Regions from separate parts of the Homo sapiens genome. Here all the other regions are linked to region 5. Evidence: promoter capture Hi-C in human tissues and cell types (Jung and others, 2019). All regions are on one chromosome and are shown on one strand. The core of a region is centred on a gene start or on the middle of the fragment in contact, and the rest is flanking DNA. Distances in the headings are between cores, read along the strand shown. Region 1 overlaps PACS1 (phosphofurin acidic cluster sorting protein 1). Region 2 has its middle 2.0 kb from the start of MALAT1. Region 3 overlaps RIN1 (Ras and Rab interactor 1). Region 4 holds the start of LTBP3 (latent transforming growth factor beta binding protein 3). Region 5 holds the start of CFL1 (cofilin 1). Region 6 holds the start of RAB1B (RAB1B, member RAS oncogene family). Region 7 overlaps PACS1 (phosphofurin acidic cluster sorting protein 1).

Region 1 (3,644 bases), core at 36-2,535, 300 kb before region 5:
AAAAAAAAAAAAAAATCAGCCAGGCATGGTGGCACATGCCTGTAGTCCTAGCTACTTGGGAGGCTGAGGTGGGAGAATCACTCGAGCCCAGGAGATTGAGGATACAGTGAGTCATGTTAGGGCTACCGTACACCATCTTGGCCAAGGGACCTCATCTCAAAAAAAAATAAGCTTTTCTATATATCCCACATTTCCTATAAAGATCATGCATTAATTTTTTTAATCAGGAAAATATATTTTTAAACAAAACTTTCACAATTTGTGGGGGTGTAACATCATACTGGCAAACATATAACACTATAAGCCAGATACTGTTATGTGCAATGTATATAATTTAATCTTCAAAACAATTATAATCTTTATTTTATATTTGAGAAAACTGAGGTGCAGAAAACTTCAGTAGTTTACCTGAGGTCACGCAGCTAGTAGGTGTCAGCCAGGATCTAGCACCAATCTGTGTTAACTAGGTTAGGCTGCCTAAATTAGATATAAAACTTGGGTGTCAAACTCCAATTTGAATTACAGTCACATTGCGCTAATGTGTTGAAGAACAGAGACCATGTCCAACTCTTAATGAATCTAACTCCTAGCACAGTGGTTTAAAAGAAAACAGGAAATGTGTAGCTTATTTAATTAAACTATAACCTTTACCATTCAATATAAATATACTAAGGGGAGAAAATAAATCTGCTTCACCACACTAAGTATTAAAAAACCCAAGTGTTATCATCCTAACAGACTTCTTAATTGGACAATACTAGCCCAGATTAAAGGGCATTTAAATTACCCCTTTCTAAACAGTGTCACGAATGCAGAATATTTTCTCCCTCTCCCGCTGGATGAGCTGGGCATGTTGCCAGATCTTTTTCTAATTAGGTCCTGTGGTTAATTTCTTAATCCATTAGCATTTCCTTACAGCTTGTTAAATGTAAAGATAGCTGGACTTTTTCCACTGTTTCTGTGAAAGTGGAGTAACCTTCCATGTCAGTCTCATAAGGGTGGATTGATCAACACTAAACAGCTGCCATCCTACATTTACCAGATCAGCAAATACCACCCGCTCCCCCACCCCCAAAACTGAAAAACCTACGACAATCTCTTGGCCAGGCTGTGGGGAAGCAGGCACTGGTACCTAGCTTGTGGGAATGTAACTGGCACACCCCTATGGAGGGCAGTTTGGTAATGTCTCCCCACCTTGCATATGCACATACTCTTTGACTCAATATTTCTTTTTTTTTTTTGAGACTGAGTTTTGCTCTTGTTGCCCAGGCTGGAGGGCAATGGCGTGATCTTGGGTCACGGCAACCTCCGTCTCCCGGGTTCAAGTGATTCTCCTGCCTCAGCTTCCTGAGTATCTGGGATTACAGGCATGTGCCACCACGCCCAGCTAATTTTGTATTTTTAGTAGAGATGGGGTTTCCCCATGTTGGTCAGGCTGGTCTCGAACTCCCGACTTCAGGTGATCCACCTGCCTTGGCCTCCCAAAGTGCTGGGATTATAGGCGTGAGCCACCACGCCCGGCCGAGACCCTGCATTTCTGAAAACATTTTTCACTCTTGATTTGACAGTTTGACTAGGTGTAGAATTATAGACTGAAAATTTTTCCATCAGGCTTTAGATGGCATTCATCTATTATCTTATAGATCCCAGTGCTATTGTTAACTGGTCTAATGTCACTTGTTTTAGATCATTTTTATGTGACTTTTCTCTCTGATGCTTTTAAAATTTGTCATCAGTGTCACAAAATTTCATGACAATGTACTCTGTTGAGGGTCTTTTTCATCACTTTTTTCATTCTGGACACTGGGTGAGCTCTTATCCATCTGAGACATTTTTGGGGAAAACCTCTTGTGTTGCTTTTTAAATAATGCCTTGTCCTTCATCTTTCTAGAACTCCAATAGTCAGATGTTGGACCTCCTAGATGTCCTTTAATTTTCTTTTTTCTTCCACTTATTGTCTATTATCTTTGACCAACTGCTTTACTTTACTCTCTCTGCCACCCAGGTTGGAGTGTGGTGGTGTGGTCATAGCTCACTGCAGCCTAGAACTCCTGGGCTCACGCAATACTCCCACCTCAGCCACCCAAGTACTTAGAACTAGGGGTGTGCCCCACCATACCCAGTTAGTTTTTTCTGTTTTTGTAGAGACAGGGTATCATCACCATATTGCACAGGCTGGTCTTAAAGTCCTGGTCTCAAGTGAGCCATCAACACTGGCCTCCCAAAGTGTTGGAATTACAGTTGTAAGCCACCACGCCCGGCCTATCTTCCAACTGCTTTACTGCAATCTTCACTTAGTGAGATTTTTCAATTCTCAAGAACATTCTTGAATAGTTCCTTTACATGGCATCCTGCTCTTGTTTCCTTGATGTAACATCTTATCTCTAAGGAATTTGTTTTTCAAAGTGCAGGCCGGGCACAGTGGCTCACACGTGTAGTCCCAGCACTTTGGGAAGCCAAAGCCAGTGGATCACTTGAGCTCAGGAGCTCGAGACTAGTCTGGGCAACATGGCAAAACCTTGTCTCTACAAAAAATACAAAAAAATTAGCCAAGTGTGGTGGCGCGTATCTGTAGTCTCAGTTACTCGGGAGGCTGAGGTGAGAAGATCACTTGAGTCCAGGGGAAGGAGGCTGCAGTGAGCCAAGACTGTGATCATGCCACTGCACTCCAGCCTGGGCAACAGAGCCAGACCCTGTCTCAAAAAACAAAAGAGGTGCTAAAGAGCTAACTAGAAATTCTATGTGGATAAGCACCGCTTGCTTCCTGTGGGACCTCACAGCATGTGATGGGATAAGGAAATTCTAAATACCATGTTAGGTTTTTTTTTTTTCCCATAGGCTAGTCAATTTCCCCAGACAGAAATGTGATAATGTCCTGGCTGAGGGGCTTATAAATGAGTATTCTAGGAGCCAAGGATGGGTCAGTTGCTCTGAGGTCTTTCAATGTCTTGGTGGGCAGAGATGGTGTCTGTGATAACAAGTCCCACAGCCAAGACAGGAAGGTAGGTGGAAAGATCTGGCTGAATATGCAGACTTCAACTTGATCTACTATTTTGGGTAAGAAACCTGCCTCCCACCCTCATTTATAACAGGGTTTCCCCAGGTTAGACTTTGACACACATATTCTTTGGGGATGGGGATCTGGGGTGCTAACTCTTCCACATTCAGACTTTCAACTCATTTTCCTGTTTTCAGCCCCAGTGTATATCCTATATTCACAGGTACCTAAAACTTATCTCAGAACATGGCCCACATGTGGCTGAAAACAGGATTGCTTCCTGTTAGCTTCCTCCACTGCAAATACTTAGTGGAGCAGATGAAGTTGAAACCTAAATGACTCATCATATATGCACCTACATTTCAGTTTTCAAAATTTTGTAGGGAAAAATTCTGGCCCACTGTGATCTCCTCTCCCAATCTCTTCATCCTTATAGATTTGTAACTTTTTTAAAAGAAAATTCCTTTACTGTCATTTTAGTGGGGTTGGGGAGGGAGGAAATATAATCCATCTCATTTCTCCATCTTTTCTAAAAGTCTCTCCTGACCCTGAAGACATCTGTTCATTTGTCATTGGTCACAACTTGGTAACATGTACCATCCTACGTAATTGAGGGGAGACAAAATTATCAAACAAAGCAAAATGA
Region 2 (3,754 bases), core at 558-3,057, 360 kb after region 5:
AGATTTTTCTTAACAGCTTATGGAACTTGAATGCAAACTACACATGCAGAAATACTTAAATTACTAGCGTGTGGAAAGATTTGAGCTGCAAACTTTAGACAAAAGAAACATGGAAATCATATTTTAAACGGGTCATCAAACACCTCACAAAACCCCCGGAACTTTTAAAATACCTCTTAAAGCACTTCTTGTGTTCTCTTGAGGGACAGTAGGTATAGTTTACCACCTTTTGAAGGAAGATTAAAGTGTGATAGTTCAGGGCTTTACTTTCCATTACGCAACTGAGCCCCAGCCTTGCAGGGACGGTTGAGAAGTGGCAAAATGGCGGACTTTCTCCCCCAACTGCTTGCAGTCCTGCGACTTGCTCCCAAGACAGCCACACGTTTTGCTTTTTTGTTCGAGAAATCGGAGCAGCACGGGCTGTCTGCTTGGGAAATCTTAGAAACGTGAAAACCCACTCTTGGAAAACGCCTCAATCCCACACCACAGAGCTGCTCCCCGCCTGAGCCCCGGGGGCCGTTGGCTGCCAGTGGCCCACTCTGATCTGCGGCCCCCCAGTTGCCGCCAGCCCCCCACGGCCCGCACGGAAATTTTTCTACCGTTTTTCAGCTTCCAGGCTCTCCTGAAAGTGCTCACAAGGCAAATCGCCATGGAAAGCGAGTTCAAGTGGCCTTTTAAAGTAGACCAACTAAGCGAATGGCTTTGTCTCCGAAGACACAGAGACCTTGGGCAGCCAGTCAGGGACACACCCAGAAGTGTTTACACTGCTCTGGGTCTGCTTTTTTAGGGGTTTTTGTTTTGCAGATTCTGTGTTATGCCTGGTTAGGTATGAGCTTCAGACCTTCTGAACCGGAGCAGGAAGAAAAATAAAAGCTTTCCTCCAAACCCCAAGACCAAACTGCAGAGTTTGAGTGGTTTTATCTAAATACCACCACCTGGAATGGCCAGCCTATAAGGACAGCTAAGATAGCAGCACAACTCGTCGCTGCGTCCCAAGGACTCTGGGAAACCTGGGCTCCCGGAGGCGTCAGAGGGGACCTGCCTTCAGGCGAGCTGAGGCTTCCCGGCGCCGGGCTTCTGCGTTGCTAAAATGGCGCTGCGCTTAAGAGGGCAGGAGAGGCCAGTTGCGGGGCCCCAGTCCTTTACAGAAGTCTCGGGCTGCAGGCTGCGGAGGGGAGAGCGGGGGCGGGGAGGGACTGCGCAACCGGTGGGGCTGCGTCAGGGACAAACGCCGGGGGAGGGGCGGCTCGCGAGCGCCGCGCAGGGATACGCGAGGGCCGTGAGCCGCCCTCCCTTTGTGAGGCGCTGGCTCGTGGGCGGGCGCCACTGGTTCTAACCGGCTCTAGCCGGTCCTGGCCGCCTTCCCGGAGCTGTGGCGGTTGGCGCAGCGCGTGACTGCGCACGCGCGCCCCGCCCTAACGCCTGTGCCTGTTCTGGGGAATGGCATGGGGGCGGGGTGGCAGCTGGCCTGGGAACTTCTCGGTCGCTACTCTGCGCTGTCACTGCACTTGGGGGCTGGTCTTTCTTTCGTGGAGCTGCTGCCCAACTTCCATTTTCAGTCTAGGTCTTCCTTTCCCACCTCTCTCCTGTCCTTTGTCATTTCCTCCATATAGTCTCGACGTCATCCATTAATTTAAAATCAGAACACAAACCTCGTGTAGCTATCAAGGGCCATGGCATTATTGTAAAATATCTTCGTCGTTTGTATGTCACCAGGTCTTACTAGTCTAGAATTCTCGGGGCAGAAGTGGTCTCAGGCTGACCTTGCAGCAGCCTAATTTTTTAGAAAAGAAACTGAAGCAATGACCTAAAATGGAGAGTTCCAGGGCACACAAAGCTTGGAGCTGGACGGGGTGGTGACACCCACCCTCTCCGCTCCCTCACCCCCGGGTCTTTGGAACCTGTATCCATGGCTTGTTTTTAGGCAGTCAACTCCGAGGGGAGAGATTAGTGACGCTGTATAGGTTAGGATGGCAAAACTAACACAATGATACAGCAACTCTATGAAGTTGATTTCTAAAACTCCTTTGGCTCCTGTAAATGATGCAGGTTGTGTACGGTGTTGGGGAGCTGCCCTGGGGGCTCCAGGAAATGAGGGTCCTGTTTTCTGGGCCAACTCCCTGTCCCCACCTGCCCACATAAAGCAGGGCCTGTTGAAGCAGCTGTTCTCAATTGACGCTGGTGAAACTGTTCTTGTTTTCTTTTCTTTTCTTTTTTATTTTTAAGCCTGTAAGAGTGGAATATTACTGAGATGCAGCCGGATCCCTTCAGGCACAGTCCTGATGCTTGCTCTGGGGTTGGAAATTTTTTAGTAGAATTTTATCGCTGGATGAAGGAAAACTGAGGCAGGTCACCTCGTTTCGCAAATGGGGATTTGGGGGCCTGGAGATTTTGTGATTTGCCTGAAATGACACACAGCTAATTAATAGCAGAAGCTGTTCTTGAATCCCAGATTTTCCACGTCCTGCTGCCTCCCTTCCTCTCCAGCACTTCTGTCAGTCTCTCCAACTGCGGTTTTTCTATATCTGGGGGAGGACCTAGGACCTGCTCTGTACTCTCTGCTCTCTCCTTCACTCTAGAGCGAGTGAGATGAACGTTAAGAGCCCTAAAATGCTTTAAATTATTGTCAGTGTCACTGCATTAATTTCCATTACCTTGACAGATTACAGAATGTTTCTTTTTTTTTTTTTTTGAGACGAAGTCTCACTCTATCGCTGAGGCTGGAGTGCAGTGGCGGGATCTCGGCTCACCGTAACCTCCGCCTCCCTGGTTCAAGCAATTCACTTGCCTCAGCCTCCCGAGTAGCTGGTACTACAGGCGCCCGCCACCACGCCCGACTAATTTTTTGTAGTTTTAGCAGAGACAGGGTTTCACCGTGTTAACCAGGATGGTCTGGATCTCCTGACCTCGTGATCCGCCCGCCTCGGCCTCCCAAAGTGCTGGGATTACAGGCTTGAGCCACTGTGCCCAGCCGCCAGAATGTTGTACAGTCATCCCTTGGTATCCATGGGGCCTTGGTTCTAAAACCTCTCCTCGGATGCTAAAATCTGAAGATGCTCAAGTTCCTTATGTAACCTACAGATATCCTCCCATATCCCTTAAATCATCTCTAGTTTGCTTATAATACCTAATACAACGTAAATAATTTTTATATTGTATTAATGAGGGAGTAATAACAAGAAACGAAGTCTGTATATGTTCAATACAGATTCAATTTTTAAAAATTTTTCTTTTTTTTTTTTTTTTTTTTGAGATGGAGTTTCACTCTTGTAGCCCAGGCTGGAGTGCAATGGCGCGATCTCGGCTCACTGCAAGCTCCACCTCCCAGGTTCAAGCGATTCTCCTCCCTCAGCCTGCCGAGTAGCTGGGATTACAGGTACGCACCACCACGCCCGGCTAATTTTTTTTGTATTTTTAGTAGAGACAGGGTTTCACCATGTTGGTCAGGCTGGTCTCGAACTCCTGACCTCAGATGATCTGCCTCCCTTGGCCTCCCAAAGTGCTGGGATTACAGGTGTGACCCACCATGCCCGGCCTTTAAAAATATTTTTGATTCACAGTTGTTTGAATCCACAAATGTGAAAACCCATAAAGGGGCCAAGGCGGTTGGATCACATGAGGTCAGGAGTTCCAGACCAGCCTGTCCAACTTGGTAACACCCCGTCTCTACTAAAAATGCAAAAATCAGCCAGGTGTGGTGGCGTGCGCCTGTAATCCCAGCTACTCAGGAGGCTAAGGCACAAGAATCACTTGA
Region 3 (4,061 bases), core at 104-2,603, 470 kb before region 5:
CTTTTGGCCTCTTCCTGTACAAGGAGCAGGGCTACCACCGCCTGCCCCCTGGGGCCCTGGCCCACAGGCTGCCCACCACTGGCTACCTCGTCTACCGCCGGGCGGAGTGGCCTGAGACCCAGGGGGCTGTGACAGAGGAGGAGGGCAGTGGGCAGTCAGAGGCAAGAAGCAGAGGGGAGGAGCAAGGGTGCCAGGGAGATGGGGATGCTGGGGTCAAAGCCAGCCCCAGGGACATTCGGGAACAGTCTGAGACAACTGCTGAAGGGGGCCAGGGTCAAGCCCAGGAAGGCCCTGCTCAGCCAGGGGAACCAGAGGCAGAGGGAAGCCGGGCAGCAGAGGAGTAGCTTGAAGTGGCCAGAAGGGTCATTCGGGGCGGGAGACCCTGAGCCTGCTGAGAAATCCTTTTAGCGCCAGCAAGCCCCACCCAGGGCCCTGTCCTGTGTCTGCCACCACCTTTGTCTGATACTTGTTTCCAGGGAAGCTGGGGGAACTGCCACATCTGAGGAACTGGAATAAAGATGAGGGGGCTTCGGGGGCCCCCAGACTGTGTGCCCAAGGCCCCTTGCCTCTTGTTCTTCTCCCCCAGCTGAGGGTGAGCCAGCCTGCAATGAGGGTGTGCCAAGTGGGGGCGAATCCGACAGATGCCCAACCTCTGACGTGGGGAGGGTGACGGTCTCAGCTCCTTTTACCCTTCCCCTCATGGGCATGGCTGAGGCAGGGCTCCACCCAAGTATCTCCCACCAGGCTGGGACTTCCAGACCCTAAAAGGTTCCAATGGCTCTTAGGTGTCAGGAGGATTTAGAGAGGCCACAGAACAGCAGCAAAGGCTTGGGGCCCACCCCTGTCCTGGACACCAGAAGGACCTGCACCTGCAAGCCTCAGTACTCTCATCTGTAAAGTGGGGACACTATTGCTGCCCTGCTCGGCTCCCAGAAGTGTCCCAGTGATCAAAATGGGTGATTTTGCTACAAGCAGAGCTCATGGCAGAAAGGGAGGGAGAGAGCTGGGCTGCTAACTCTCTCCCGGAGTCCGCTCTCTGCCAGACAGGGCTCCCACCTGCTGATGCCCAGTTCAGGGAGGTTATTCCCCTGGAAATCAGGCCCTGGGGAGAAAGTACCCAAGTTACAGTCTCTCCCCAAGATTTGGAGTCCTCCCAGGCCCTCCAGCATCTCTGGGGAGATCCACCAGCTGGCAGATAAGCTTCCAGAATGGAGAGGGGGCTCAGAAACCATGCTCTCTGCACTAAACTCTTGGCCCTCACAAAAGCTTTACTTGGCCATGACTTGTTGGGCCCACTGAGGGTCAGGAAAGTGACTCCCAGGATGTCATATAGCAAGTCCTTAAGGGTTCCCCCGCCCAAACCAGGGCATCAGGTTCCAACTCCACCCTCCATTCTAAGCCACCCACAAAGGCCGGGGCAGCCCCCAAGGAAGCCCAGAGCAGGCAGCAAATCCAAACAAGGAAAAGTGCCGACCACCAACCACGAGGGGGTGTGCACGGCCCGGGAATCTGCCGAGAGGGTGACCACCCAGGGGTGAGGGCGCCTCCAAGGCTGCAGCAGCAGAGGGGGTCCCGGGCCTTGCAGTCCAGCAGCATCAGGCAACCTGGGGACAGCGCAGGGGCCAAGGCCACTGGCCCCCAGGTCCCTTAGATTCTGGGGTCTGGGTAAGGCCAGCCTCTTGGGGGCCATCCCCAGGAAGGAAGGAATTGTCCCCTTATGGAGGATGACCCCAGAGGCTCTCTCCTCGGGCACTGAGCACAGAGGGGACGTCAGCCCAAATGTCAGACATGACAACTGGGAGGTAGAAATCGTGGACATTGGCTTTTTGGGTTTTTTTGTTTGTTTGTTTGTTTGAGATGGAGTTTTGCTCTGTCGCTCTGGCTAAAGTGCAGTGGTGCCATCTCGGCTCACAGCAACCTTCGCCTCCCAGTTCAAGTGATTCTCCTGCCTCAGCCTCCCGAGTAGCTGGGACTACAGGTGTGCACCACCACACCTGGCTAATTTTTGTGTTACTAGTAGAGACGGGGTTTCCCCATGTTGGCCAGGCTGGTCTCAAACTCCCGACCTCAGGTGATCCGCCCGCCTTGGCCTCCCAAAGTACTGGGATTACAGGCGTGAGCTACCACACCCAGCCAGACATTGACTTTCAGATGAGCAGTCCAGATACAGCCCAGTTGCACGGCTCCCATTTTTTTTGTCACTAGGCCACCAGCAGCTCTTCCCTCCCCACTTCCACGCCCTCCCAAGGTTCTCGCTGATAGGAAGTGTCCCGTTGGCTCTTCTATTCCCCTCCCTGTTTCACCACTCACCCCTAGTGCCTCACACAGTCCAATGCTGAGCACAAATGCCATAGGTGTTCAATAAATGTTGTTCACTGATTGGAGTTTGATAACCAGGAGTGAGGGACAGTGAGGCAGAAACCTGGGGAGTATAAGGGAGGACTCGGTTCTGGGAATCAAACACGGGATGTGTCAAGCTCAGTCCCAGAGGAAGGACCTGGAATGTTTGTAGAGGGTGCTCGGAGGATCCCAGGGGCCGGATGTACAACTGGCCTCATGGGAATGAGGCTCTGGGGCCTCTACAAGCCCTTCCCACCCTTGCCAGGCTCAGCATGACCTGACCCCCTCCCTGCCCTCCCCAGTGATGGGGCACCACAGGGAGCTGCTGCCTGGGTCTTGTGGTTTTTCTTCTCAAGAAACTCTGGGCTGGGCCTGGTGGCTCACGCCTGTAATCCCAACACTTTGGGAGGCCGAGGCCGGTGGATCACCTGAGGTCAGGAGTTCAAGACCAGCCTGGCCAGCATGGTGAAACCCCGTCTCTACTAAAAATACAAAAATTAGCCAGGCGTCGTGGCACACACCTGTAGTCCCAGCTACTGGGGAGGCTGAGGCAAGAGAATCACTTGAACCCGGGAGGCAGAGGTTGCAGTGACCCGAGATCACACCACTGCACTCCACCCTGGGCAACAGAGCAAGACTCCATCTCAAAAAAAAAAAAGAAATGAAAAGAAAACAAAAAAGAAACTGATTGGTCAGGGGTCCAGGCCAAATCAGCATCAACAAGATTATGATCCTGGGGCAGAGCCTCCAGGCAAGGCAGACAATGATAGGCCAGTGTAAGACCAGTCTCACTAGCCCCATTTTACAGATGAGAAAACTCAGACTTGCTCAGGGAAAGTGCCTTGTTACAGGACAAAGGGCTCAGACACCAGGTTCTGTAGTCCTTCAAAGCAGAGGGGCTGATTTATATGTCCACTCAGCACATCTATCAAACATCTGTTATAGGCCGGGCAAGGTGGCTCAGGCCTGTAATCCTAGCACTCTGGGAGGCCGAGGTAGGCAGATCACCTGAGGTCAGGAGTTCAAGACCAGCCTAGCCAACATGGTGAAACCCCATCTCTACTAAAAATATAGAAGTTAGCTGGGCAAGGTGGCTCACGCCTGTAGTTCCAGCTACTTGGGAGGCTGAGACTGGAGAATTGCTTGAACCTGGGAGGTGGAGGTTGCAGTGAGCTGAGATCACACCACTGCATTCCAGCCTGGGCGACAGAGCAAGACTCCAAAAAAAAAAATCAAACAACAACAACAACAACAGAAGTGTCTGTTATAGACCAAGCACCAAGCGCCCCCAGCTCCAGCCAAAGGGAAATAGGTCACATCTCTCCATTTGCATGGCGTGATCTGGGTGGTAACTGAAAGCTCACTGTGTCCTAGGGATTCCATGCCACCCCTTCCCCAGCCTTTGTCCTTATGGAAAAAGAAGCCAAGGCTCCAAGAGGTGACATGCCTGGCCCAGCGTCCGCTGCTGCAGGGCAAGACTGGAACTCTGACGTTTGGATCTATGAAAGAGCAGTCGGGTCATTTCCTTACTTGGAAGCATTGACCTTATCACTCCTAAAGTCACGGTGGTTCTGTATGCAAGTTTATTGTCTGTTTCCCTCACTAGAATGCCAGAGCCACCCCCACCTTGTTCGCAGTTAAATCTCAAGGGCCTTGAACAATGGCCGGGCCGGAACTGGCACTTGTGAATCTATGTGGAATGACTGATTCGGAAAGACGCA
Region 4 (3,740 bases), core at 803-3,302, 300 kb after region 5:
GAGTGCCCGCTCTTGCCCTGACACAGTCCCACTGCAATGAGAATAAAAGCAAATTCCTCACCATGGCCGGCCCCTCCCACCACCACTACACCTTCGGCTCTCCCTCTCCACCACACCCTGTTGTTCCACTGGCCTTCCCTCAGTTCTCTGGATAGCCTCCCCCTGCAGCCTCCCCTGAGGTCAGATGCCCACAGGTGTGACTCACTCCTACTCATCTTCCAGCTTCCGATGGAAGACTCTCTTTGTCTCCCAGGTCCCAGCCCTCTCCTGTCCTGCTTCCCTGCCCTTCTCTGTCACGGTACCAGCCTCTGTTGTAGCCACAGTTCTGTGTGAATTGATCTGGCACATATCCAGCTCTCCTAGTACAGCAGCTCCAGGAAGGCAGGACTGGTTCTATTTGTGGCCAAGAGCTTAGGATGTGGTGGAGTCTCAGTTTGTTGAGTGAATTTTTTACATTTATTTTTTAATTTTTTGTTTTTTATTACCAGTAGTTGAACATAGATGTTGAGTGAATAGATACCCATCTCACAAGCAAGGAAACTGGGGCTTAGAGACAGTAAGAATCCAACCCTGGACTGTTTGACTGTGCTGTGCTCCATGGTGAGCCACAGCCAGCTCTAGGCAGAGTCAGGACAGGTTCAGATGAGTGTTAGGAAAAAATGAGTATACAATGCTCAGCCCTGTGCCTGGCAGGTGGTCGGCACCTAGCATTATTCCCTGCCTCCGTGTGGACCAGGGCCCCAAGAAGCAGGGGCTTGCCCCTCACACCCCATCCTGGATTCCGGCAGCAGGGATCCCTGGGGACATGTGATTGTCCCTCCCAGCCCTGCACCGCTTAGTAAGGGGGACTTACTAAGCGTCCCCCTAAAGCTACCCACATCAACTTACGCTCAAAGTAAAAACAGAGTTCCTTGGACAGGTGTGCCTGAAAGTGAGTCCCTGAACCTCCTCTCCCCAATTAGACTGCTGCCCCGGGTGCTGTCCGGGAGAGGGTCTGGTGCCGCCCTGACTTGGCAGCGCTTTTCCTGGATGTGCCCTAGCCGTCCCCACCTCCTGCTGAGTTCTGTGAGTCAGAGACGGAACCCTGGGGTCTCCTGGCAGGCCCCACAGTAAGGCCTGGGCCCCCGCACGTTGCAGCCTTTCCTTCCAGACCAGCGGACAAGCCTGGTCTGGAACTATGCTCCTCTCCAGCCATGGCCAACCTGAAGACCCCCACCCCCAGCCGCTGCCAGCCCCTGCCCTGGGGCTCTGCTGTGCCCCTCTCCAGCCCCTGGGCCCTCGGACAGCGCCCCCGTCCTCCCGGCTGTTAGCCTGGGAAGGGGGCCAGGCCCTGAGCTCAGACCTTGGCGATTCCAGAGTGTCTGAGGCCCAGAGCCAGCCCCGCCAGCACGGCCAGACGAAAGGAAAGGGGGGAGGTGGCAGGGTGGGCACCAGGAAGCCATTCCGAGGGGGCTGGCAGGGAAGCTGGGTTCTAGCTTTGTTCTTTCTGCTCCTCTTCTGGACCCCACAGACTTCCTCCTGGGACCTCCGTGAGCCCTGGCCAAAGGCTGTCCCCACCCTTTAGCCCTTTCCTCAGAGGGGATTGGACCAGCACTAACGAGAAGTTACTTTGGGGCCCTGAGACCCCCACGTTTGCAAGGGAGGCTGGGAAAGAGCTGGAAGGCCTGGGCTCCGGCTCCACCCGGCCTCCATCGTCAGTGTGACCCGGCAGGGCCACCTCTCTCCCTCAGCCTCGGTATCTCGCTCTACGCAGGCCTCCCCGCCCCGCCCCGCCCGGAGGAATCCGCGGCCGGCCAGACGGTCCCAGGTGAGGGCCCTCTGGAAAGGGCCCAGCGCGGCCGCGGGTTCCGGCGGGGGCGGGCATCTGGGGTGGGGACTGTCCCCGCGCCACCCCCCAGCCTCCGCCAGCCTGCACACCCTCGCTTCTCCAGGCGGCAGAGGCGACGCTTTAAACAACAAAAAAAAAAAAACTGTGTCCCTGGCCCGGGGCCAGCGTCCCAGCCCCCCTCGCCGCCGCCGCGCCGCGCTCCAGCCAGGGAAAACAACTGCTCACTTCTCCCTGAGCCCTCCCCGCGCGCTCCCTGCCTCCCCGCGGCCGCGGGAGAGGAGCCCGGCCAGGGGGAGGCGCGGAGCGGGCCGGCCGCCCGGCCTTCCTCTCCCTCGCTCCTCCTCTCCGCCTCAACTTGCTCCGGCCTCCTCGCTCCTGCCTGAGTTCGGGGCCTGGTCTGGGCTTCGTCCTGGGGCTGGGAAGTTTCTGCGCTCCCCGCTGTCCAGTCTGCATCTCCGCGCCTCCCGCCGGGCCCCCGCGGTCCCCTCCCGCCCGCTTCCCCCGCTGCCCTCCCTCGCTGCCCCCTACCCTCTCCCGGGGCTCCCGGCCCTCTACTCCCTTCGGGCGCGGGCCCCTCGCCCCGCCCGGGCGCGCCCCCCCTCCCCCGGGTCCTGCGGCCCCGGATGCCCGGGCCCCGAGGGGCTGCTGGCGGCCTGGCCCCTGAGATGCGCGGGGCGGGGGCGGCGGGGCTGCTGGCGCTGCTGCTGCTGCTGCTGCTGCTGCTGCTGGGCCTGGGCGGCAGGGTCGAGGGGGGGCCGGCCGGCGAGCGGGGCGCAGGCGGGGGCGGGGCGCTGGCCCGCGAGCGCTTCAAGGTGGTCTTTGCGCCGGTGATCTGCAAGCGGACCTGTCTCAAGGGCCAGTGTCGGGACAGTTGTCAGCAGGGCTCCAACATGACGCTCATCGGAGAGAACGGCCACAGCACAGACACGCTCACGGGCTCCGGCTTCCGCGTGGGTGAGGGCCGGGGGCACGGCTGGGGGCAGGGGAAGGACAGGCACCAGGCCCGGTGGGAGAGCTAGTGGGGTCTTGGCCTTAGAGACTGGGGGCTGAGGGTATAAAGGGCAGAGATCCGAGGGCCTGGGGGACCAGGGGCCTCAGGGAACTTGGGAGGCTGGAACTCTGGGGGCCAGAGTTGGAGGGCTGCATGGAGGCCTGGACTTTGAAGCTTTGCGTTAGGGTTGGGGCCTAAGGGGTGGGGAAATGCAGAGGTCCTGGATGACACTGGCTTCCCAGAAGGTGCTGAGTTCTGAGCAGGAGCACACAGGGTTTTTGAGGAATGTGAGCCGGGGACAGGAAGCCTCAGAGAAGGGCTAAATATTCCCGCAAGAAGCAGACTTGCTGGAAGAAACAAGAAAAGTCTTTACAAAATGTCTAAAGTAGGGCCTGCCAGAGTAGACACCTGCATTCCCTGGGAGGAGGAGCTAAGGTCAGGGCTGGGGATGGGAGCCGGCTACTGGCAAGGTCTGAGTAGGGAGGGTGTTGAGGCCTAAAAGTAGGGTGCAGGCCTGAAGGTAGGGACTAGTTCGGGGTTCTCAGCCTCTCCTTTTCCAATGCCTCCCCATAAGCTCCTAACATCCTGCCTCAGAGGCCCTCAGGGCCCCCCTCATCCTCCCCCAAGCCCCTACACCCTCCCCAGTTCAGCTTGGAGTCCACCCCCTCCCCAGCATCTCTCTTTAAAGGGCCAGGCCTGGGGCTCAGTCATCCTCCTGCTAGGCCCCGTGGGCCAGGCTCGGGGAGGTGTCCCAGCAGTAATTACCCTCCTGGACAGGGTAATTAGGCCAGGCCCAGGATGGCACCAGCAAAACAGCCCCTCTTACACATTCCTATATTCACTCTCCCACTCACAGAGCTAAGGAACCCCACTCATGTGGCTCAAATTTGTCATGAGATGGGGTGTGCGTGCGTGTGTCTG
Region 5 (3,381 bases), core at 882-3,381:
CTCTTAAGATTGTCAGCTTCAGCCTCAAGCTTGAAGGAGGCTGGAGATGGAGACTGGTCTTGAAAAGAGTCCAGGAGAGGCGGGGGCTAGGAGACAAACGGGTGCAAACGTATTGGTGGGAGGGACACCCAGAAATGGGTGCCGGGGATGAGGACACAAAGGTAAGGCAGGAGGAGCTGCAGGACCCTTGGAGGAAATGGTGATCCTCATCCCCGGGATACAGGGCAAAGAGTGTGTGGTGGAGAGGAAGTCGGGGACGTGCCGAGAAGGCCCAAAATAGAACTCGGAATGTCGGGGGTCAGAGGCCTAGAGGAAGGAGGACTGTAAGTAAGAGGTGCTTGGGCATCCTGGCAGTTGGGGAGGCCTGAGATGGGCACGCGGTTGGGTTTGGGAGCGGAGGAGCAGGCTGCGGGTTAAGAAGCCCAGACACAGGTAGAGGGGAGAACACTTCGTCATTTTTGTGGCTAATCGGAAGTGGGAGACCCTCAGGGAGGTTGAAGATGGAAACCCTACAAAGGGCTTCAACCTGAGAAGCCTGAAAGACACGTATAGCTGAGTTGGACACAGGCGACCCGCCAGGGTTTGAAGCAGCACCCGGCCTCTAGCTGCTATGCCGGAAGTCGCAACACGCAGGTCTCCAGCCTGCGAGGAAGGGAGAGGTGGGCGCCAGAGCTCCAGTCCCGCCCCTCAGGACTGTGCCTAGCCCACGGCGCAGTAGCCCCAGCCAAGCTAAATTGGACCAATGGGCTCCGGCTCCCGCCTCCCGCCCGCCGCGGCCTTATAAGGAGCCTCAAGCCGGCTGTCGGGCTGGCCCCGCCCCCTCGAGTCTCTTGTCCTAATAAGGACATCTAGGGCATCCCGCGGCTGGGGGCGGGCGAGAGCGCGTCTCCAGGGTAACTGCGAAGCCCCCCTCTCTCTCCCCGTTGCTCTTGGAAACTCTAAGGCTCAGAAAAGGGGGCGCTAGCCTCATATTCATGTAGGGTCGCTCGCGGGAGGCGGGGTCAAGCTGCTGTCTCCACCTGGAGCGCCGGGAGTCCGGGCGGGGGCGGTGCTGTGGAATGTCCCCGACTACAACCCCCGGTATGCTCTGCAAGGTACCCCACTCCCAGGCATCGCTCTCCGTTTACACCCTTAATTCCGTTTATAGGATTAGGGCCCCCAGTTCCCTTTCTGGGTTTGCCTCTGACTTGTTTGCGACCCAGTCTTTTCCTGCAGAGTGTGAGGCTGTGGTCACTGTTCTAGAACAACAAAATCATCCCGGAGTCCCCCGCTCGTTTCTTTTTTTTTTTAAGGCATATACTACCACAGAACTTGTCTCAGTTTTGCGGATGTTAGAATAACCATGTACCTGGCTATCAACTCGAGAGCTGGGTTCAAGTCTGGTTTAATATCTATTTCTTCTCATTGGCACGTAAAGGCATGTAAAGAAGCCTTGAATTGAATGCACAAACCCTCGTCTTTACCCTTTAACGCCTCATGACTTTGCCAAACATCTTTAAACAAGAACAAAGCTCTCAGAGATTTCCTTGTACCTTTCCCCTGTGCCTTTTCCTCCTATTCTTGTTTTACTGACGTTGGACATGGCCTTTTTTCAGGAGACGAGAGTGGCTTTACACATGCAGAGTACTAGTGTTTATCCGACTGACGACGCCTTCATACTTGTGATTTCCTTTGCTTTAGGTCGGGATTCCAGGCTAATCAATAGTTGCTTCGATTCAGAAATGCAAAACCCTAACCTCACTCAAAAATTTCAGGCCAAGGGATCCAGATAATACCAGATGGGTCTTAAGAAAGCCGTTTTGCTGTGGGATAAAGAGCCGCTTAGTCGGGGATCGTTTTCGGGTCATTTTACTGAGCGCCGCCTCGCCGGGCTCAGAGCGGTTCCTGGGAAATTGGACCAATGGGCTCGCGCTGCGCGCTGCGGTGCCGCCCAGGACCTGGGCCTACATTTCCCTACATGCACTGCAGCTCGGAGCCGGCCGGCGGGAAGACTCCGTTACCCAGCGAGCGAGGCGGCGGCGCAGGGCCAGCGGACTCCATTTCCCGTCGGCTCGCGGTGGGAGCGCCGGAAGCCCGCCCCACCCCTCATTGTGCGGCTCCTACTAAACGGAAGGGGCCGGGAGAGGCCGCGTTCAGTCGGGTCCCGGCAGCGGCTGCAGCGCTCTCGTCTTCTGCGGCTCTCGGTGCCCTCTCCTTTTCGTTTCCGGAAACATGGTGAGCGGCAGGCCACGGCGCCTGAGGGAGGCGGCTGCGGGTCGGTCGCCTGCGCGCGGGAAGCGACTGGGGAGCGACGTCCGCACCCCCTCCCCCAGCGCCCCGGGCGGGATGAGGGTCTCGCACGAAGGGGCGGGCGGTGCCGGAATGCGCGTGCGCGCCCGTGGGCGCCGGGGAGGGCCGGTCTGGACGTCGCTCGCGCTCCGCCTGGGCTCCCCTCCCCCACCCGCTGGTGCGCCCGCGCGGACACCGGCCGCGGGGGGAGGGGTTCGGGGCGCGCGCTGGGGCGCCCCTCGCGGAACGGCCGGCGTCGCGCCTTTCTTCTTAGGGGCGCGCTCTCGACTGGAGCATGCGGCGTCCAAACCCGGCCCGGGGGCGGCGAGGAAAAAGCGCGCGAGAGGTCTCGGCGCGCGCGCCCCACCCAAGGCTGTTCCTGTCTGCGCGTCACCCTCCCTCGGCAGCCGGGTCCGTCTCGGGAGCAGGTGGCAGGGATGCCTGCGCCCGGGAGGGGCGGGTGCTGGCGCGGCGAGGGGTGATGCTGGGAAGACGGGGTCCCGGTTGGGGCGTGGGTGCCTGCGATTAAGGCCTTGCACCGCAAGGCTTGGAGGGGGCATCGCAGAGACCGCGGCCCGTTCGGGAGCGCATCTAACGAGCTGCGTTCTCACCCGTGCATCGGGCGAGGGCTGGAACGGCGCTGTCTGTCGGCGCGTGCGCGCACGCTCAGGCCCGGCCGCCGGTGCCGAAGCCCTGGGCCAGCGAGGCCTTCCCGGATGGGCCTGAGTGAGGGTGGAGCCGAGTTTAGGGAAGTGACCCAGGCGGGCACCGCCCGGAAACCACCCCGCCCCCTGTATACGGCCCGAGGGCTGAGAAAACCGAAGGTTATGTAGCTTGCCCAGGCTCCTGCCTGCAGGAGATGGGTCTGATACACCCGTTGTTTTAGGGCGATTCCACAGGGTTAGGGACCTGGAGATGCTGCTGCCTCTCGGATACGCGTTTCTGCATTGGTGAGGGGGCCGGGCCCAGCCGATCTCCTGTCCCCGCCCACTCCGGATGCGGCCGAGTCACGTGGCCGGCTTCTTCTGCAGTTCCGGGGAGTTTGGGGGACCAGATTTACCTTGGATTGCCCCTCCCTCTCCTGGCTCGGGCACCCCGAAGCACGACGCAGAG
Region 6 (3,731 bases), core at 728-3,227, 410 kb before region 5:
ATGCAGCACAACCCCGTCTCTCTTTTCTTTTGTTTTTTCGAGACAGAGTCTCGCTCTCTCACCAGGCTGGAGTGCAGTGGCACGATCTCGGCTCACTGCAACGTCCGACTCCCTGGTTCAAGTGATTCTCCTGTCTCACCCTCCAGAGTGGCTGGGATTACAGGCATGCGCCACCATGACTAGCTAATTTTTGTATTTTTAGTAGAGACGGGATTTCACCATGTTGGCCAGGATGGTCTCGATCTCCTGACCTCGTGATCCACCCACCTCGGCCTCCCAAAGTCCTGGGATTACAGGCCTGAGCCACCGCACCCGGCTAACCCCATCTCTTTGGAGACAACAACAACAACAACAACAACAACAACAACAACAACAACAACAAAAACCTGTTATGAAGTCACCAGGAAGAGGTGGTCAAGTTGCAGTGAAAATTGCACTTAAGGCTGGGTGCAGTGACTGACACCTGTAATCCCAACACTTTGGAAGCCCGAGGCACGAGAATCATTTAAGCCCAGGAGTTTGAGATCAGGCTGGGAAACATATCGAGACCCTGTCTTTACAAAAAATTAAAAAATGTGCCAGGTGTGGTGGTGTGCCTCTGTATTCCCAGCTACTCAGGAGGACAAGGCAGGAGGACTGCTTCAGCCCAAGAGTTGGAGACTGCAGTGAGCCATCGTCACGCCACTGCACTCCAGCCTGGGTGACAGAGAGAGACCCTGTCTCAAAATAAAAAAAAAAAAAGGCAAAAGGTAATCACATTTAATATACTTGAGTTCCAACCTGTGGACGGACCCTGTGTGAAGTACTTTAAATGCATCATCTCATTTAATCTTCACAACAGTTCAATGAAGTCAGTTTTGTCATTGTCAACTAATGAGGAAACCAGAGGCCAGAGAAGGGAAGTGACTTGCCCTAACTTACACAGTTTATCGCTTTAAGACTCAAACCAGGTTTCTCAGACTCCAAAGTCCCTTCGAGAGCCTGCTGGTTCCCTTCTCTGTTCCCCTCCCAATCCAGCTCAGAGCTTCACCCTTCCCCAAGGAAATCTGAGACCTGGATGTGGAGTAGAAAAAGGAAGTGGCAGAAAAGGAAGAAGATAACTGATACTTGGGGAAAACTATTAGTCCTGGGCATGAGATGTGGGCCACCTACCCGCAGGGGGAGTGACCAAGAGTGAGGAGAGTTTGAGGACCAGAGAATCCCACAGGAAGGGGGAGAGCAAATTCCATATTCATCTAAACTTCACAGGCAGTGTGACAGCCAAGGGAAGGGGTGTGACGGTGGCGTTGGGGGCCTGAGCAAAAGCGAGGAGAGGGCGGGAAAGGACGGACCGGCGGGAGCGACAGGACAGCGCGACCCAGGCAAAGGGTAGGAGGCAGCCCCGGAAGAGAGGACCTGCGGGAGACGCGACCCAAGCGGCGCTTCGGGGCCTCCCGCGTAGTTGGCTAGCTTCTGGGCCGGCCCCAGGAGCCGGGCTTCAGGAGAAAGAGAAGGGTAGAGGGATTCACTGCCCGACCTAAAGGGCCCAAGCCTGAACCCGAGACCAGAAACTATCAAGACGGGCTCCAAAACTCCGGGACAGTTGTCAAGCAGCAGGTGGGGAAACTGAGGCCTGAAGTGACCGGGACTGCGGGGTCATCTGACCGATAAGGCCTGGTAGGACCGATGTCTCGAGCTCCAAGAGCTGCCCCTGGGGGTCGCCACGTCTGGGCCCCGGGTGCGAGGGCTCGGGGTTTTGAGCCGGGGTCCTGGGGCCCCTGGGGGGAGGGGCAGAACCCGGATGTGGGGGGGGGTCAGCGGAAGAGGGACCCGGATGTGGGGGCGCCGCACAGTCCTGACCCGGGCCAGACAACCCCGGTAAGCGTACAGCCCTGTATTCGGGATCGAGGCTGCGCTGGACGGCGCGGGCGGGGCTCACTCACTATTCGGGGTTCATGGCGGCGGCGGCGGCCCGCTCGGTCGCTCCCAGTCGACTCTGCTCCGCCTCCCGTTCCAAGATGGTGGCCGCTCCGCCCCAGAGGCCCCGCCCGCGACGCGCAGGCGCAAACGTCTTCTTCTCAGGCCTCGCCGCGCTGATTCCCGGAACTTGTAGTCTAAGACGTTCTCCAACTCAGCCCCGCTGCGCAGGCGTAGTCGGGGAGCCCGCGCCTCCGCGCCCACTCCCATCACTGCTGGCGCATTGCCTTCTGGGGCTTGTAGTTTGCACTCCGGACGCACTCAGGCTTGAGGACAGTGCTGGAAAGCCTGACCGCGACTCGGTGTTTAGAAAGCTCAATTTAGGGCTGGGCTTGGCACGTTTCACATCTGTCTGACGGAGGTAGTCATCCTTGCCCTCCCAATACCCACGTTGTGAACATTAAATGAGAATGTGGGTTCTAGTAAGACTAATAAAAGTACATTTGTCCAGGGTTCTTCGTGTACTGGGCAGTCCTAACTCGCAGCCGCGCGTCATCACCCGCATTTCATAGATGAAAAAACTGAGTCTCGGGAAACTCACTCAAGGTCAAAAACTTTGTGAGGAGCAGAGCTCATAAGAGCCCGCGGTCTCCAGAACCCCACAAGTGAGTGTTTTAGGGAAAGCCTGACTTGTGGGCCCCTCACGCAATTCCGGGGTGGGGCACAATATCTGGGCCCAGCTGCGCGGACAGCGGTTGAGCGAGACACACTGTCCCCCACTCACGCACGACCCTTCCCGGCTCCACCCCAGTCTAGAGACGCTGGGGGCCCCCGACCTCCGTCTCAAAACAAGCCCAGCTCAGATTTAAACCGTCTTTATTTCTACAGCAACATCTGAAAATATGAGAGCAGCCGCCTCACCCGCAACAGGGGGAGCCCCTCCTGCCACCAGGGGACCGTCGCCGCCCCTCGCGAGAAGCTGCAGGCGTGGGGGGAGGCGAGGCAGGATGGCTCGGTGGGCGGTGCCCGGGGCGGGGTCGGCCGTGCCTGGGCGGGGCCGGGTGGGAGGGGCAGTGCATAAGGCCGGGATGCGGGGCAGGGCCCGGCGGTGGGAGGACGGACTAAGGGGAGGTCCCCGTCCTGGGCCACGGGGCGATGGCGCGGGTAGGACGCATCCCTCAGAGGCCAGGAGGAGCGCGAGAAGGTCCCAGGACCCCCTTGGGAGGCGCCGCTCCCGAGAATGTAGAGCCTGGGAGATACCACCGCACGGAATGGGGGTGATTAAGGCCTGGGCGGTACCACTAGAAGAGGGACGAGGGGAGGCCCGGGTAGTACCGTGGACTGAAGGGAGGCGCGCGGCCAATAACTTATTTCTCTATATACAGAAGCAACGGCCGGGTTGAGTCGGGAGGGAGGGCGAGGGTGCCGAAGGGCCGGCGAGTGCTTAGTGTTCTTGGCTCTGGGGTCTGGGGAGGCCAGGCCACTGAGTCTATGGTGGAGACTCCAGCCGGCACCTCCTGCTGGCCCGAACCTAGGGAAGAGGGCCCTGCTGGAAGGAATAAATAAGGGATGGAGCTGGAGTGGGCAGGCCCAGCCTCCAGGGCTCAGGCTGAGATGACAAGGGAGAAGGTTACCCTGAGATTGAACAGAAAAGACAGGGGCTGTGGGAGAGACAGGCGGGACAAGCAGCAGGCCCATGCGCAGGGCTGGGGTGAGGGGGGTGTGCCAGGTGGGCGCTCTGGTGACTGGCTGCCCCTTCAGCATTAGCCCACCAGGGAGCTTCGTCGGGAGAGGTCCATGGAGCTGGAGCTGAGAGTGCGGCTGTCAGAGAGACC
Region 7 (3,674 bases), core at 122-2,621, 270 kb before region 5:
TGGTCTTGAACTCCCGACCTCAAGTAATCTGCCTGCCTCGGCCTCCCAAAGTGCTGGGATTACAGGCATGAGCCACCATGCCCGGCCTGCCCAGATATTTTAAACAGGACTGATTTTCTTCAATTACTTGAATACCTGAATTATCCCAGTTTTCTATTTTATTTTATCTACACAGGCATAGTTAGACACTGGTTAGAGTAAGACTAGAGGCAAAAGACACCCCTGGTTACTCTACTTGAATCTGTGAGTAATGTGTATTTTCATACACTTTGAATTATTTAACATGACTTAGCTCTCTGACCCTGGAAAATCACTCTGAATCCAGAACATCTTCAAAATAGAGGATGGAATAAAATTGCTTCTAAGATCCTTTTGACTTACTTGGTTTATATCTTCTTTACTATGGGATCAAATCCCATTAAACAGCAAGTCAGTGGCTCAAAATATTTCAAATACTAGAACTTCATTGTAGCAAATGATGCTAAAAGTAGAAATTTAATTGCAATAAGATTTGGTCTACGCATTAATTGATGTGGTACTTTAATTTTTTATTTCCGTAGGTTTTTGAGATTTTGGTGCACCCAACACCCAAGCAGTATACACTGTACCCAATTTGCAGTATTTTATCCCTCACCTGCCTCCTGCCCTTTCACCCGAGTCCCCAAAGTCCATTGTATCATTCTTATGCCTCTGCATCCTCATAGCTTAGCCCCTAGATGCTGTATTTTTAAAAAGAATTTATTGTTCACCAATGTTCATAGCAGCATTATTCACAATGGACAAAAGGTGGAAGCCACCCAAATGTTCATCAATAAAGAGACAGACATGGAAAGAAACAGTTCCTCCTCCTCAATGGGATGTTCTGGTGTCTCCCTGTGGCACCTGGAACTGCGACAGGCCACCTGAGACCATGGGGAGCCAGCGGGCAAGCCTGTACTGAGGATGACAAAGCAGGAGGGCAAAATGAACTTGGCTCCTTGATGCCTTTGCCAGGCTGCTCAGTTAACCAGCACTGGACTCACCCTTGCCCCAGACTTTTGTTTTCTGAAATGATAAACATCTGTGTGTTTAAGTCATTGAGCTGGCTTTTCTGTTTCTTGAAGGTGAAAGCATTCTAACTGATGACACACACTGACCTAAGATGTCTGACACACCATGAGACTTATGCAGTAATGAAAGGCAGAGTTTGATCTCCATAATTAACAAACTCACTGAAAGGCAAAATACACCGTTCTTGTCATTAAAATGCAAGAAAGGCTTCAGAGCAGGTAAAGAACAAGGTTAAAGTGCAGTAAGCAGATCCATACATTTAGCCATTCAATACATAAACGTGGACCCAGAAGTTATCCTGAATGAACCAATTATGCCCCACTTCAGAAATATTAGAAGATGATGACTTAAAATACTGTCTTTATGATCACAACAACCCTAACTATATAACTCTAGGTTATATTATTCCCATTTTATAGATGAAGACACTGAAGCAGAGAAGAAGCTGAGTAACTTGCCCAAAGCCATTATGTCCACAGTTTTCTCTGCCTGGAACTCTTCCTTCTCTTCACTTAGCTAATTCCCACACATCCTTCAGGTTTCAACTTAAGCAATCACTCCTTAGGAAAAAGGCTTCTTTTATGTGTTCAGACAAGGTCCAGAGCTCCTATTATGCTCCACTGCACTCCTGTTCTATGGCAGCATTTTGCACACTTGAGATTAAATATTTGTCTTCCCACTAGAATGCCCATGGCCTGAAACAGTTCCGTCTTTTTTACAACTAGACGGTATTGCCAAAGCTGCGCAGAATGCCTGCCCTTGACAGTCTCACAGTCTGATAGCGAGACAGCAAGTAAACAGTTCCTTGGAGATATTGTGGCTTTAGTTCCAGACCACTGCAATAACGCAAGTGACATGAAATTATTTATTTCCCGGTGCATATAAAAGTTATGTTTACACTATACAGTAGTCTATCAACTGTGCAATAGCATTGTCTTAAAAAAAAAAAAAGTATATACTTTAATTTAAAAATGGGCTGGGTGCGGTGGCTCACGCCTGTAATCCCAGCACTTTGGGAGGCTGAGGTGGGTGGATCACGAGGTCAGGAGATCGAGATCATCCTGGCTAACACGGTGAAACCCCACCTCTACTAAAAACAACAAAAATTAGCCGGGCGCGGTGGCAGGTGCCTATAGTCCCAGCTACTTGGGAGGCTGAGGCAGGAGAATGGCATGAACCCGGTAGGTGGAGCTTGCAGTGAGCCGAGATCACGCCACAGCACTCTAGCCTGGGCGACAGAGCGAAACTCTGTCCCAAAAAAATAAATAAATAAATAAAATAAAAAAATAAAAATGGCTTATTGAGCCAGGCGTGGTGGCTCACGCCTATAATCCCAGCATTTTGGGAGGCCGAGGCAGGTGGATCACCTTAGGTCAGGAGTTCAAGACTAGCCTGGCCAACATGGCAAAACCCTGTCTCTACTAAAAATACAAAAATTAGCTGGACATGGTGGCACGTGCCTATAATCCTAGCTACTTGGGAGGCTGAGACAGGAGAATTGCTTGAACCCAGAAGGCGGAGGTTGCAGTGAGCCAAGACCATGCTACTGCACTCTAGCCCGGGCAACCAAGCAAGACTCCGTCTCATTAAAAAAAAAAAAAAAAAGCTAACAATTTTCTGAGCCCTCTGCAAGTTGCAATCTTTCTCCTGGTGGAGGGTCTTGCCTCAATGTTGATGGCTGCTGACTGATCAGGATGGTGACTGCTAAAGGTTGGGGTATCTGTGACAATTTCTTAAAATAAGACAATGAAGTTTGTCACACTGACTCTTCCTTTCATTAAAGATTTCTCTAAAGTATGCAATACATTTGATAGCATGCTACCCACAGCAGAATTTCTCGCAAAATTGGATTCAGTTCTCTCAAACCTTACTGCTGCTTTATCACTAAGTTTATGTAATACATAGTTATTGTTATAAATTATTGTAATACATTATCATTTCAACAGTGTTCACAGCATCTTTACCAGGAGTAGGTCCCATCTCAAGAAACCACTTTCTCTGCTCATCCACAAGAAACATCTGTTCAAATTTTATCTCGAGATTACAGCAATTCAGTCATATCCTCAGACCCCACTTCTAATTCTAGTTCTCTTGCCATTTCCCCCACTTTTGCAGTTATTTCCTCCACTGAAGTCGTGAGCACCTTGAAATCATCCATGAGTCGAAATCGACTTCTTTCAAACTCCTGTTGATGTTGATACTTTGACCTCCTCCCATGAACCACAAATGTTCTTAATGGCATCTAAAATGGTGAATCCCTTCCAGAAGGTTTTAAATTTACTTTGCCCAGATCCATGAAAGGAATCACTACCTATGGCAGCTATAACCTTACAAAATGTTTCTTAACTAATAACACTTGAAAACTGAAAATATTCCTTTATCCATGGGCTGCTGCATGGATGTTGTGGTTAACAGGCATGAAAACAACATTAATTTCTTTGTACATCTCCATCTGAATTTTGGGTGACCAGGTGCACTGTCAATGAGCAGTAATATTTTGAAAAGAATCTTTTCTTCTGAGCAGGTCTCAACAGTGGGCTTAAATATTCAGTAAACCATGCTCTAAATAGATATGCTGTCATCCAGGCTTTTTTGTTCCATTTATAGAGCACAGGCAGAGTAGA

What was found. The method cuts DNA at HindIII sites, captures the fragments that hold promoters and counts their contacts. A contact is called where the count stands out against the background at its distance.
Region 1: a contact is called between a fragment that was not itself captured here and the fragment with the promoter of CFL1 in region 5, in 1 of the 25 tissues and cell types used here (spleen).
Region 2: a contact is called between a fragment that was not itself captured here and the fragment with the promoter of CFL1 in region 5, in 2 of the 25 tissues and cell types used here (dorsolateral prefrontal cortex and lymphoblastoid cells).
Region 3: a contact is called between a fragment that was not itself captured here and the fragment with the promoter of CFL1 in region 5, in 2 of the 25 tissues and cell types used here (dorsolateral prefrontal cortex and spleen).
Region 4: the fragment with the promoter of LTBP3 here is called in contact with the fragment with the promoter of CFL1 in region 5 in 1 of the 25 tissues and cell types used here (dorsolateral prefrontal cortex).
Region 6: a contact is called between the fragment with the promoter of RAB1B here and the fragment with the promoter of CFL1 in region 5, in 2 of the 25 tissues and cell types used here (lymphoblastoid cells and spleen).
Region 7: a contact is called between a fragment that was not itself captured here and the fragment with the promoter of CFL1 in region 5, in 3 of the 25 tissues and cell types used here (lymphoblastoid cells, mesendoderm cells and spleen).

The regions. Positions count from the first base shown.
Region 1 is chr11:66,157,035-66,160,678 of GRCh38, reverse strand. The region is part of intron 1 of PACS1 (phosphofurin acidic cluster sorting protein 1); the gene reads right to left. Among named protein-coding and RNA genes, the nearest start is that of PACS1, 89 kb to the right of the region's middle. The HindIII fragment of the contact is 3,109 bases long and covers 1-2,839 here.
Region 2 is chr11:65,495,154-65,498,907 of GRCh38, reverse strand. It overlaps a transcript of MALAT1 not described here. Among named protein-coding and RNA genes, the nearest start is that of MALAT1, 2.0 kb to the left of the region's middle. RefSeq lists enhancers at 733-802, 863-1,102, 1,332-1,476, 1,263-1,702, 672-1,871 and 2 more, a silencer at 1,143-1,202 and a cis regulatory region at 1,396-1,411. The HindIII fragment of the contact is 3,150 bases long and covers 233-3,382 here.
Region 3 is chr11:66,328,559-66,332,619 of GRCh38, reverse strand. It overlaps RIN1 (Ras and Rab interactor 1), which reads left to right. Exons shown (of 10, transcript NM_004292.3): 10 at 1-2,379. The coding sequence ends at 344. Among named protein-coding and RNA genes, the nearest start is that of RIN1, 5.8 kb to the left of the region's middle. The HindIII fragment of the contact is 6,220 bases long and covers 1-4,061 here.
Region 4 is chr11:65,556,671-65,560,410 of GRCh38, reverse strand. It overlaps LTBP3 (latent transforming growth factor beta binding protein 3), which reads left to right and starts at 2,052. Exons shown (of 28, transcript NM_001130144.3): 1 at 2,052-2,782. The coding sequence starts at 2,452. RefSeq lists silencers at 1,774-1,933, 1,984-2,223. The HindIII fragment of the contact is 15,125 bases long and covers 1-3,740 here.
Region 5 is chr11:65,856,930-65,860,310 of GRCh38, reverse strand. CFL1 (cofilin 1) reads left to right here and starts at 2,131. Exons shown (of 4, transcript NM_005507.3): 1 at 2,131-2,214. The coding sequence starts at 2,212. It also overlaps a transcript of MUS81 not described here. RefSeq lists enhancers at 136-225, 926-1,015, 1,576-1,645, 2,036-2,085, 2,019-2,559 and 1 more and silencers at 676-755, 2,166-2,565. The HindIII fragment of the contact is 15,299 bases long and covers 1-3,381 here.
Region 6 is chr11:66,266,885-66,270,615 of GRCh38, reverse strand. It overlaps RAB1B (RAB1B, member RAS oncogene family), which reads right to left and starts at 1,977. Exons shown (of 6, transcript NM_030981.3): 1 at 1,923-1,977. The coding sequence starts at 1,936. KLC2 (kinesin light chain 2) reads right to left here. Exons shown (of 16, transcript NM_001318734.2): 16 at 2,756-3,731. The coding sequence ends at 3,660. It overlaps KLC2-AS2 (KLC2 antisense RNA 2), which reads left to right and starts at 2,205. Exons shown (of 3, transcript NR_186342.1): 1 at 2,205-2,317; 2 at 2,408-2,561; 3 at 2,785-3,067. RefSeq lists enhancers at 877-1,758, 1,919-2,248, 2,369-2,418, 2,719-2,768, 3,525-3,731 and silencers at 2,879-3,198, 3,219-3,268. The HindIII fragment of the contact is 7,867 bases long and covers 1-3,731 here.
Region 7 is chr11:66,122,171-66,125,844 of GRCh38, reverse strand. All of the region lies in intron 1 of PACS1 (phosphofurin acidic cluster sorting protein 1), which reads right to left. Among named protein-coding and RNA genes, the nearest start is that of PACS1, 54 kb to the right of the region's middle. The HindIII fragment of the contact is 8,035 bases long and covers 1-3,674 here.